Regions from separate parts of the Homo sapiens genome. Here region 1 is linked to region 2. The links are contacts of gene promoters, found by promoter capture Hi-C in human tissues and cell types (Jung and others, 2019). All regions are on one chromosome and are shown on one strand. The core of a region is centred on a gene start or on the middle of the fragment in contact, and the rest is flanking DNA. Distances in the headings are between cores, read along the strand shown. Region 1 has its middle 38 kb from the start of MAS1. Region 2 holds the start of PNLDC1 (PARN like ribonuclease domain containing exonuclease 1).

The links. The method cuts DNA at HindIII sites, captures the fragments that hold promoters and counts their contacts. A contact is called where the count stands out against the background at its distance.
Region 1: a contact is called between a fragment that was not itself captured here and the fragment with the promoter of PNLDC1 in region 2, in 1 of the 25 tissues and cell types used here (aorta).

Annotation. Positions count from the first base shown.
Region 1 is chr6:159,926,400-159,931,485 of GRCh38, forward strand. No RefSeq gene overlaps it. Among named protein-coding and RNA genes, the nearest start is that of MAS1, 38 kb to the left of the region's middle. The HindIII fragment of the contact is 6,602 bases long and covers 1-5,086 here.
Region 2 is chr6:159,797,437-159,802,104 of GRCh38, forward strand. It overlaps PNLDC1 (PARN like ribonuclease domain containing exonuclease 1), which reads left to right and starts at 2,840. Exons shown (of 19, transcript NM_001271862.2): 1 at 2,840-2,947; 2 at 3,336-3,393; 3 at 3,677-3,750. The coding sequence starts at 2,872. MRPL18 (mitochondrial ribosomal protein L18) reads left to right here. Exons shown (of 4, transcript NM_014161.5): 3 at 1-82; 4 at 616-993. The coding sequence ends at 687. The HindIII fragment of the contact is 11,703 bases long and covers 1-4,668 here.

The DNA of each region.
Region 1 (5,086 bases), core at 960-3,459, 130 kb after region 2:
CTGCGCCCAGCCCCTTGGGGAGAGATTTGATGCAGAGGACATGGTGATTTGAAAGTGATCATTTTTTCCCCAAGAGTTTGGACAGGAACAGAAAGGGTCAAAAGAAAGTTCTTTAATGATACAATGAGGACTGCTGTGGTCAGCTTGAAGGTTTCAAGGCAAATCAGGAAGAGGCAGCCCTGTACAATAAGCTTTACTGGGTGATGCTTGAGTGGGGCTGCCTGAGAAGAGGGGGCTCCCTCGCAGCAGGAGACCCTCCCAGAAGGAGAAGAGGGCAAGGGAACTCCAGGGCCAGAGAGAGTCAAAGAAGGGCCTTATGTGTCTAGGTGACGTCACTCAGCAACAAGGTGGGGAATGTCTGGGTCAGAGACTTCCAAAGGGCCAAAGTAGTTTGAGATCTGTGATGGTTAATTTCACATCAGCTTGACTAGGTATTGATATGCTCAGAAATGTGGTTAAATGTTATTCTGTTTTATCTGTGAAGGCATTTCTGGATGAGATCAATATTTGAATTGTAAGACCAAGTCAAGCAAACTGCCTTCCCCAGCGTGGATGGATCTCATCCAATCTGCTGGAGGTCTGAGCAGAACAAAAAAGGCTGAGTAAGGGAGAATTCACTGGCTCGGCCTGACCATCTTTGCGCCAGGACAGGGGTCTTCTCTTGCCTTTAGACCTGGACTGAAACTTACACCATGGGCTCTCCTGGATCTCCAGCTTGCCAACTACAGGTCCTGGGACCTCTCATCCTCTGTAATTGCATGAGGCAATTCCTTATAAATCTCTCTCCCTCTGTGTGTGTGTATATACATAGAGAGAGAACACATTTGCTGGGCATGGTGGCTCATGCCTGTAATCCCAGCACTTTGGGAGGCCGAGGTGGGTGGATCATTTGAGGTCAGGAGTTCAAGACCAGCCTGGCCAACATGGTGAAATGCCATCTCTACTAAAAATACAAAAATTAGCCAGGTGTGGTGGTGTGTATCTGTAATCCCAGCTACTCGGGAGGCTGAGGCAGGAGAATTGCTTGAACCCAGGAGGTGGAGGTTGCAGTGAGCCAAGATCATGCCACTGCACACTAGCCTGGGTGACAGAGCGAGACTCTGTCTCTTAAAAAAAATATATTTATATGTGTTATATATGTTATATAATTTATAATATAAATTATAACATATATTTATATATGTTGTATGTTATATTATTATATATAACATATATAAATATATATTATATATAACATATATAAATATATATTATATATAACATATATAAATATATATTATATATAACATATATAAATATATATTATATATAACATATATAAATATATATTATATATAACATATATAAATATATATTATATGTAACATATATAAATATATATTATATGTAACATATATAAATATATATTATATGTAACATATATAAATATATATTATATGTAACATATATAAATATATATTATATGTAACATATATAAATATATATTATATGTAACATATATAAATATATATTATATGTAACATATATAAATATATATTATATGTAACATATATAAATATATATTATATGTAACATATATAAAATATATTATATGTAACATATATAAATATATATTATATAACATATATAAATATTATATATTATATAACATATATAAATATTATATATTATATATAACATATATAAATATTATATATTATATATAACTTATAAATATTATATATTATATATAACATATAAATATTATATATTATATATAACATATAAATATTATATATTATATATAACATATAAATATTATATATTATATATAACATATAAATATTATATATATAACATATATAAATATTATATATATAACATATATAAATATTATATATATAACATATATAAATATTATATATATAACATATATAAATATTATATATATAACATATATAAATATTATATATATATAACATATATAAATATTATATATATAACATATATAAATATTATATATATAACATATATAAATATATATAAATATATGTTATATAACATATATTGTGTGAGTACACATACAGAATATATATAGTGTGTGTATATATGTATAGATACCTGTGTATATAATATATTAGAATATGTGCAGTTATCCACTGCATAATGACATTTTGGTCAATGATGGACCTCATATATGATGGTGATTTCTTAAGATTATAATGGAGCTGAAAAATCGCTATTGCTTGGTGACATCATTGCTTCTGTAATGTTGTAATGCAACACTTGATTCATGTGTTTGTGGTGCTGCTTGTGTGTACAAGCCTACTGAGCTGCAATCATATAATAGTATAGCATATACAGTTATGTAGAGTACACAATACTTGATAATGATAATAAGCAACTATGTTACTGGTTTATGTATTTACCATACTATACTTTTTATTGTTATTTTAGAGTGTGCACCTATTTATTAAAAAATTAACTATAACACAGCCTCAGGCAGGCCCTTCAGGAGGCATCCAGAAGAAGGCATTGTGACCATAGGAGACGACAGCTCCATGTATGTTATTGCCCCTGAGGACCTCCCAGTGGGACAAGATGTGGAGTTGGAAGACAGTGATATGGATGATCCTGAACCTACATGGGCCTAGGCTAATGTGTGTGTCTGTGTCTTAGTCTTTAATAAAAAGTGAAAAAAAAATTTTAATAGAAAAAAGCTTATAGAATAGGGATATAAAGAAAGTATTTTGTATAGCTGTACAGTATGTTTGTGTTTTAAGCTGAATATTATTACAGGAGAGCCAAAAAGTTACAAAAAAATTAAAAAGTTTATTAAGTGAATAAGTTACAGTAAAGTAAGGTTAATTTATTATTGAAGAAATAAATGTAGTGTTCCCTAAGTGTACAGTGCTCATAAAGTCTATCATAGTGTGCGGTACAGTCCTAGGCCTTCACATTCACTCACCACTCACTCACTGACATCAGAGCAACTTCTAGTCCTGCAGGCTTCATTCGTGGTAAGTGCCCTGTACAGGTGTACCACTTAAATAACTTTTAAAATACCCTTCACTCTGATGTTTGCATAATGACAAAATCGCCTAATGACATAGCCCTGTAGTTAAGTGACACATGACTGTATATACATTCTATCATGTATGTACATATATGACATTATGTTAATATAAAGACTAATACAGCGTAGTTCATAGGAACAAGGTTCATCTTACCTGTGGCTTAGCAGATGTTGGGCACAGTTTTGTGGGCTATGTAAAGTAGGTAGGCTCCAAATTGCCAAAAATAGATTTCTCTGGACTATATTTAAAGCAATCAATGTGGAAGAATTTGAGTTTGGTGCCAGTGGGCTTTGAGCTAGTGGTCTAGCCTGCTGTGAAGGCCTAAACAACATTGTAGGCCAACACACGAGGCCACGTCTGGCTCATTTATATAACTGCTATGGAGGAAAAAGAGGAGAGTCTTTCATCAGTAAACATCTCAGTAGCTAATGGTGCTTTCCCTAATTCTGGGGTTCTTTCTATTACGAGGTGGCAATGAGCTTGCGGTTGTATGTTTGCTGTAAACTCTTTGTCACCCTTGCTTGTCTACACCACACCAGGCTGGAGAGGGAAGCGAGGGCTCAGGTAACGGTGGCAGCAGTTATAAAAATAGCTGAATCCTCTCGGCCACCATCCCCGTTCTGGATTTTCCCTGGCAGAGTTCCAGGCGGTTCCACGTGCTTTCCCTGGCTAGCAGCCAGTTTAGTGCACCCACTACAGCCACTGGTGTGTTTGCTTAAAAATGTTTTTCTTGTTTTCTGATTAAAATATGTGAAATGCTTATCATAAATCATCTGGGAACAGGAAAATAGAGACTTAAAAGTGACCTATATCATAGATAAGTGCTAACACTTTGATGTACTTTTTCTTAGTCTTTTAAAGGGCATGTTTATAATATTGAACATCATTACTGCTTTGTATTCAGGTTTTTGCACCTAAGTTAAGTCATATGCCTTTCCTGTGTCATTAAATATGTTTTTGAAGCATATTTAATGCTAGCATGAAATTACACTCTATGGTCATAGTATGTTTGTCCAGTTATTGGACATTCAGGTTGGTACCCAACTGGCCCACTGGTAGCCAATGCTGCAGTTGCTACTGGGGCCCAGGCCACCCCTGCTGCTGTGCCTCCAGATGAGACTGGAAAGGGCTCCTGCCCCATCAGTGTTCACACTCCTACACATCAAAGTAAAAAGCTCTTTCTTGGTTTCTTTCTGCATCTCTGATCTTATGACATTTCATTAAGCTCATTCTATCAAAAGAATACAAACCTTCTCTCTGAGAACTGGTGAAACTTCCAAAAGCCAATAAAAACAAACTGGTTTGGAAAAGGAGAGAAAGCCTGGGCTGAAAAAAGGCTACAAGGGTGACAACTGAGGCACTGTCTCAATAAGGACACTGTGCAGAAACTTGATGTGTTCAGGCTAAATTTATGCCAGAGCCCACAGTGGGCCACTTCACACCTGTGGCTGTTATTAAAGAAGAAAAATAACAAATGTTGGCATGGATGTGGAGAAATCGGAACCCTCATAGATACCAGTTGCTGGTGGGAATGTAAAACGGTATGGTTGCTGTGAACACATGGAGTGGTTTCTCAAAAAGTTAAACATAGAATTACCATATGAACAACCAGTTTTACTCATAGGCATATACCCAAAAGAGCTGAAAGCACGGACTTGTACACATACTTATACATCAATGTTCATAACAGCATTATTCACAGTAGCCAAAAGGTGCAAACAAACCAAACACGTGTCAACGAGTGAATGGATCAGCAAAATGTGAAATATACAATGGAATATTATTCAGCCTTAGAAAGGAAGTTCTGACACACGCTATGACATGGATGAACCTTGAGGACAATATGCAAAGTGAAATATGCCAGTCATAACAGGACAAATGCTGTATGCCTCCACTTATATGAGGTCCCTGGAGTACTCAAATGCATAGAGACAGAAAGTAGAATGCTGGTTGCCAGAGGCTGGAGGGAGGAGGAAGTGGGGAGTGAGAGTTTAATCATTACTGAGTTTCATTTTTTCAAGATGAAAAAG
Region 2 (4,668 bases), core at 1,590-4,089:
AGTGCTGGCACAGAGATGCTTAGAGGCGGGAATCAACTTCATGGTCTACCAACCAACCCCGTGGGAGGCAGCCTCAGACTCGGTATTTTTGTTTTCATGTACTTATTGAAAAGGTATTGTGTTAATTCTTGGCATTAGATAACTTACATAATAATAACAGTTTTTACTTACCAAATACTTTCCATGTGTCAGACCCTTTGGTGAGTACTCAACAGTGTTACTTCATTTAATCCTCACATCAGTCCATAGGGTAGGGACTAGTACTCTCATTCTATACAGAAATAAACTGAGGCTTACTTGCCCAGAGTCAGTGTATGGTGGATTTCAAACCCAGGGTGACTGATTCTGTAGTCCATGATGTCAGCCACTGTATTTCCTGTTCATATATTGACATCTTGTCCATATAATATTTTGAAATGCTGCTGAACCTTGACATCTCTACATTTCCTTTTTACTTACATCATTATTAAGATCACTTTCTGAAAAACCGTTGTAGGCTGGGAAGTTAGCAAGAACAAATCAATTTATTTCTGTCTTTTGGAAGGTGAAAGTATTTTCAGCCTACTCGTGCTGCTGACTTAATCTTTTCCTTTTTTTTCTGATTTTCAAAACCAGATGAAACGACTACAAAGTGCCATGACAGAAGGTGGTGTGGTTCTACGGGAACCTCAGAGAATCTATGAATAAATGGAAGCATTAATTGTTTTGAACATGTAAATATAAATCTGTCAGCCACTACAGCCATCAAAAGAGAGCATCTGGAAGAACAGCCAGCTTGGAAGTTTTACAGCAATAATGTTGCAGTGGAATATTATTTGTAGTTAAGGTCATCCTCCTCCCCTTTCTGTTTTTTTAAATCAAGAACTACGTTCTGCCCCTCTCTTGGGCTTCAGAAGCATCTAAGAAAAGCAGTCATCAATTATAATTAACTTTCAAAGGGCAAGTCAGAAGTTGTTTATAAATTACAAAATAAAGGCATATTATGAACTCTTATTTTCTGGTTATATGACATTGTCTGAGCTCACTGTGGCAGTGGAGCACATATGAGGTTGATGTAAAGCACTTATTACTGTGTCTAGTTCATGGCGAGTGATCTCAGTGAATGACAGTTGTTTGCTGCTCGGAGTGTGGGTTGTTTTTTAAAATAGGAAATGTCAGTATCAATCTAATACTATAGAACAGTCAGTATGTGAAAATGAAAGGACCAAATGCCAACCTCACTTGGACTCTTGGTTCCCAACAGTAAGAGAAACAAATTTGAAAGAGGAAGGAGGTGGCATCAGGAGCTGAAAGCAGAGGTGGAAATGGTTGGGGTTAGTGGGCGCTCAATTTGCCATGAAGTGAACATTTTATTAGATAGGAGATGAAACTTGAAATGCATGCAAGTTAATCTAAAATTTGAGCTTGGGTAGATGGGAATCATGGCAGTTCTCTGAAAGGAGCTGATTAAGGTGTTAATTTTTGGCTATTTGATAAATGTGAGAAAAAACCTGTAGGCAGTTAAGGTGGCTTCTAGAGCATTGTTTTCCAGTTTTTTTAATGTATACCCCAATTAAATGTTTGTTTAGAAGTGAAATATGTTACTTCTGCCAATTTGAGTATTCAATGTGTTATTTTAAATGGAACACATCTGTATGAAGTATGATTTGTTCTGAGAGGTCTTCAGAATCAAATGGCTTAATAGTCCCCTTTTGCTTAATTAATGTCCCGGAGAGGCATTTAAAAGTATAATTGAAGATCGGATGCAGTGCCTCACACCTCTAATCCCACCACTTTAGGAGGCTGAAGCAGGTGGATCACTTGAGGCCAGGAATTCGAGACCAGCCTGGCCAATACGGTTTAACCCTATCTCTACTAAAAACAAAAATGAGTTGGGCGTGGTGGTGCATGCCTGTAATCCCAGCTGTTCAGAGGCTGAGGCGGGAGAATCGCTTGAACTCAGGAGGTGGAGATTGCAGAGAGCCGAGATGGCACCACTGCACTCCAGCCTGGGTGACAGAGTGAGACTGTCTCAAAAGGAAAAAATAAAGTATAACGGTAATGTTTTCTCCGCTAACCTTAAAGATTGATTTGAGCACCTCACTTTGAGGACCATAGTTCCAAAACGCTGTTCAAGTAGAAGCCTAGAATTCAAGGGAGGACACTGTAAGGAAGACCATGGACTAGTTGCACTGGAAACAGTAACAAAAGTAAAAATTAAGCTCACATGTATGTGATGATGTAGGTAGGGATTTCCGCAAGGAGTGAGTGCACGAGATAATCCCTGGGGACCAAGGATTCCTTCAATTTAATGGGCAGTTCTTGAGGCTTTGCAAAGTTTGATTGCAGGTGTGAAGACAGTGGTAAGGTGGACAGCAGAATGAGGAAAAAGATGTCCAGGGGCGTGGGAGAGGGAATGGGGACAGACATACTGGCAGTGATGGAGAAGTTGGGAAGAGGTGATTTAGAAGACCGTGAGCCGCAGCAAAGGATCTGCTTATTGCAGTTGCGTCCGGTGTTGTTCCTGCTCCGCTTTTCTGATTTCACCCTTTCTGGACTCTGTCTTCGTCTCCTGCCACGCCTCTTAACATTCTAAGTCCATGTAAATGACATTCTCACGTTAAGGGCTGCAAAGAAATTGCTGAGGAGCCAGGTAAACAGGCTTTGATTGCAATTGCAATCAAACCTCTGTAGCAAATCGTACAATTAAAACACCCGCAGGCAGGTGTGGGCGACGCCAGCAGCACACGGGGAAGCTGGGCACGTGGGGCGGAGGCAGCTGCCTGGTTTCCATGTGTGCGCCCTTTAAGACCCGGCGGCGCGACGGAAGCGCGTGGGCAGCACGTGGGCAGCACGTGATAGCGCTGGGCGACTCCGCGGAGCTGCACGGCCATGGACGTGGGCGCCGACGAGTTCGAGGAGAGCCTCCCTCTGCTGCAGGAGCTCGTCCAGGAGGCCGACTTCGTGGGTGAAGAGCCTGGGATTCGCGGCTGTGCCGGACAGAGCCCCTTGCCCCGGGCGAGCTTGAGGAGGGGGTGGCGGGACGGTTGCCAGGCCACAGGGCCTCAGAGAGGGCCTCGGGAAGGACAGGGGGGCTTCCTTCTCCAGCCCCGGGGCGGTGGGACTTTGAGCAGCAAGTACACTCCGAGCCCCACGTCCCTTGTTGGCCAGAGCCCCGTGCGCCCAGGTGCCTGGCTGCTCCTTGCCTTGGTTCCTCCATTTTCCCTTCCTGACCTCACTTGGCTTCTTGAGCGCAGAGGTGAGCGCGGGTGCCTTGGCCGCCTGCAGATCTACAGTGTGAGGAGTGCTGGCGATGTTCTGCACCCGAGGACTGCTATTTTTTGCCTTCCTGGCAGGTCTGGACATAGAGTTCACGGGCCTTCGTTCTAACCTGTCTGGGCCCCAGCAGATCAGGTAAAACTAAAGCTGTGTCCCCTCTGTATAAGAGCCTGGCCAGACCAGCACTGTTTCTGGCCAGCAGCCTGTTGGCATTTGGGGGGCAGGACGTTTTGTGTGGCTTGCTCCTACGTGTTGGAGGACCTTGCTTTTTTCTGTCCACTAAATGATGGTAGTGCTCCCTAGTTGTTGTAACAAGGAAAAAATCCTCCCCGGTTGCGAGTGGTGGTCCTGCCGCGGAGGCCATAGTGCCGGGATGGGATGTCATTGCTCGTGGAATGAGATGCCTGTTTGTTCACAGTCTTTTTGATTTGCCATCGGAGTGGTATCTAAAGACCCGTCAGAGTGTTCAGCAATTTACAGTCTGTCAGATTGGTGAGTTTAATATCAGCTGTTAGAGTTTTTCAAGAAGGTATTTTTATTGTCCTTGGATTTCCTACTGTAAAAACAGCTCTGAGATTTTTCAAGGATATTGAGTATCGTTTTGTATGCTTGTTTTGTGTTGGGCCATTGTATACATATGGAAATCAACACTTCGGAGCAAACCAAATTTAGCAGCATTGTTTCCGTGCTTAAATAAGTCAGTATTAAGGAACACTCACTGTTACTCTTTCAAGTAAAACTGTGTGTGTGCGATTTTTATTTTATTTTTTGAGACAGGGTCTTGCTCTGTCACCAAGACTGGAGTGCAGTAGCATAGTCTTAGCTCACTGCAGCCTAGACTTCCTGGGCTCAAGTGATACTAGCACGTCAGCCTCCTGAGTAAACTGGGACTACAGGCTCACCACCACACCTAGCTAATTTTTAAATTTTTTGTTCAGATGGGTTTTCGTCATGTTGGCCAGGCTGTTCTTGACTTCCTGGGCTCGAGCAATCTTTCTGCCTCTGCCTCTCAAAGTGATGGAATTATAAGCGTGAGCAACCACACCTGGCCTGTGATTTTTTTTTCTTAAGAAAATTTACACACAAAAATAATTTTTTTTAAGGTCATCTCAGTTTCAGAAACTTTTTTTTTTTCCTTGATGGGATTTGGAGATCTTTCTGTATCGGTTCATACAGATCTATTTGTTGATTTAGTTATTAGTTTATTTTCTGAGATGGAGTCTCGCTCTGTTGCCCAGGCTGGAGTGCAGTAGCGCGATGTGGGCTCACCGCAACCTCCACCACCCAGGTTCGGGTGATTCTCCTGCCTCAGCCTCCAGAGCAGCTGGGATTACAGGCAATTGCCACCAGGCCTGGCTAATTTTTGTATTTTTAGTAGCGATGGGGTTTCACCATGTTGGCCAGGCTGGT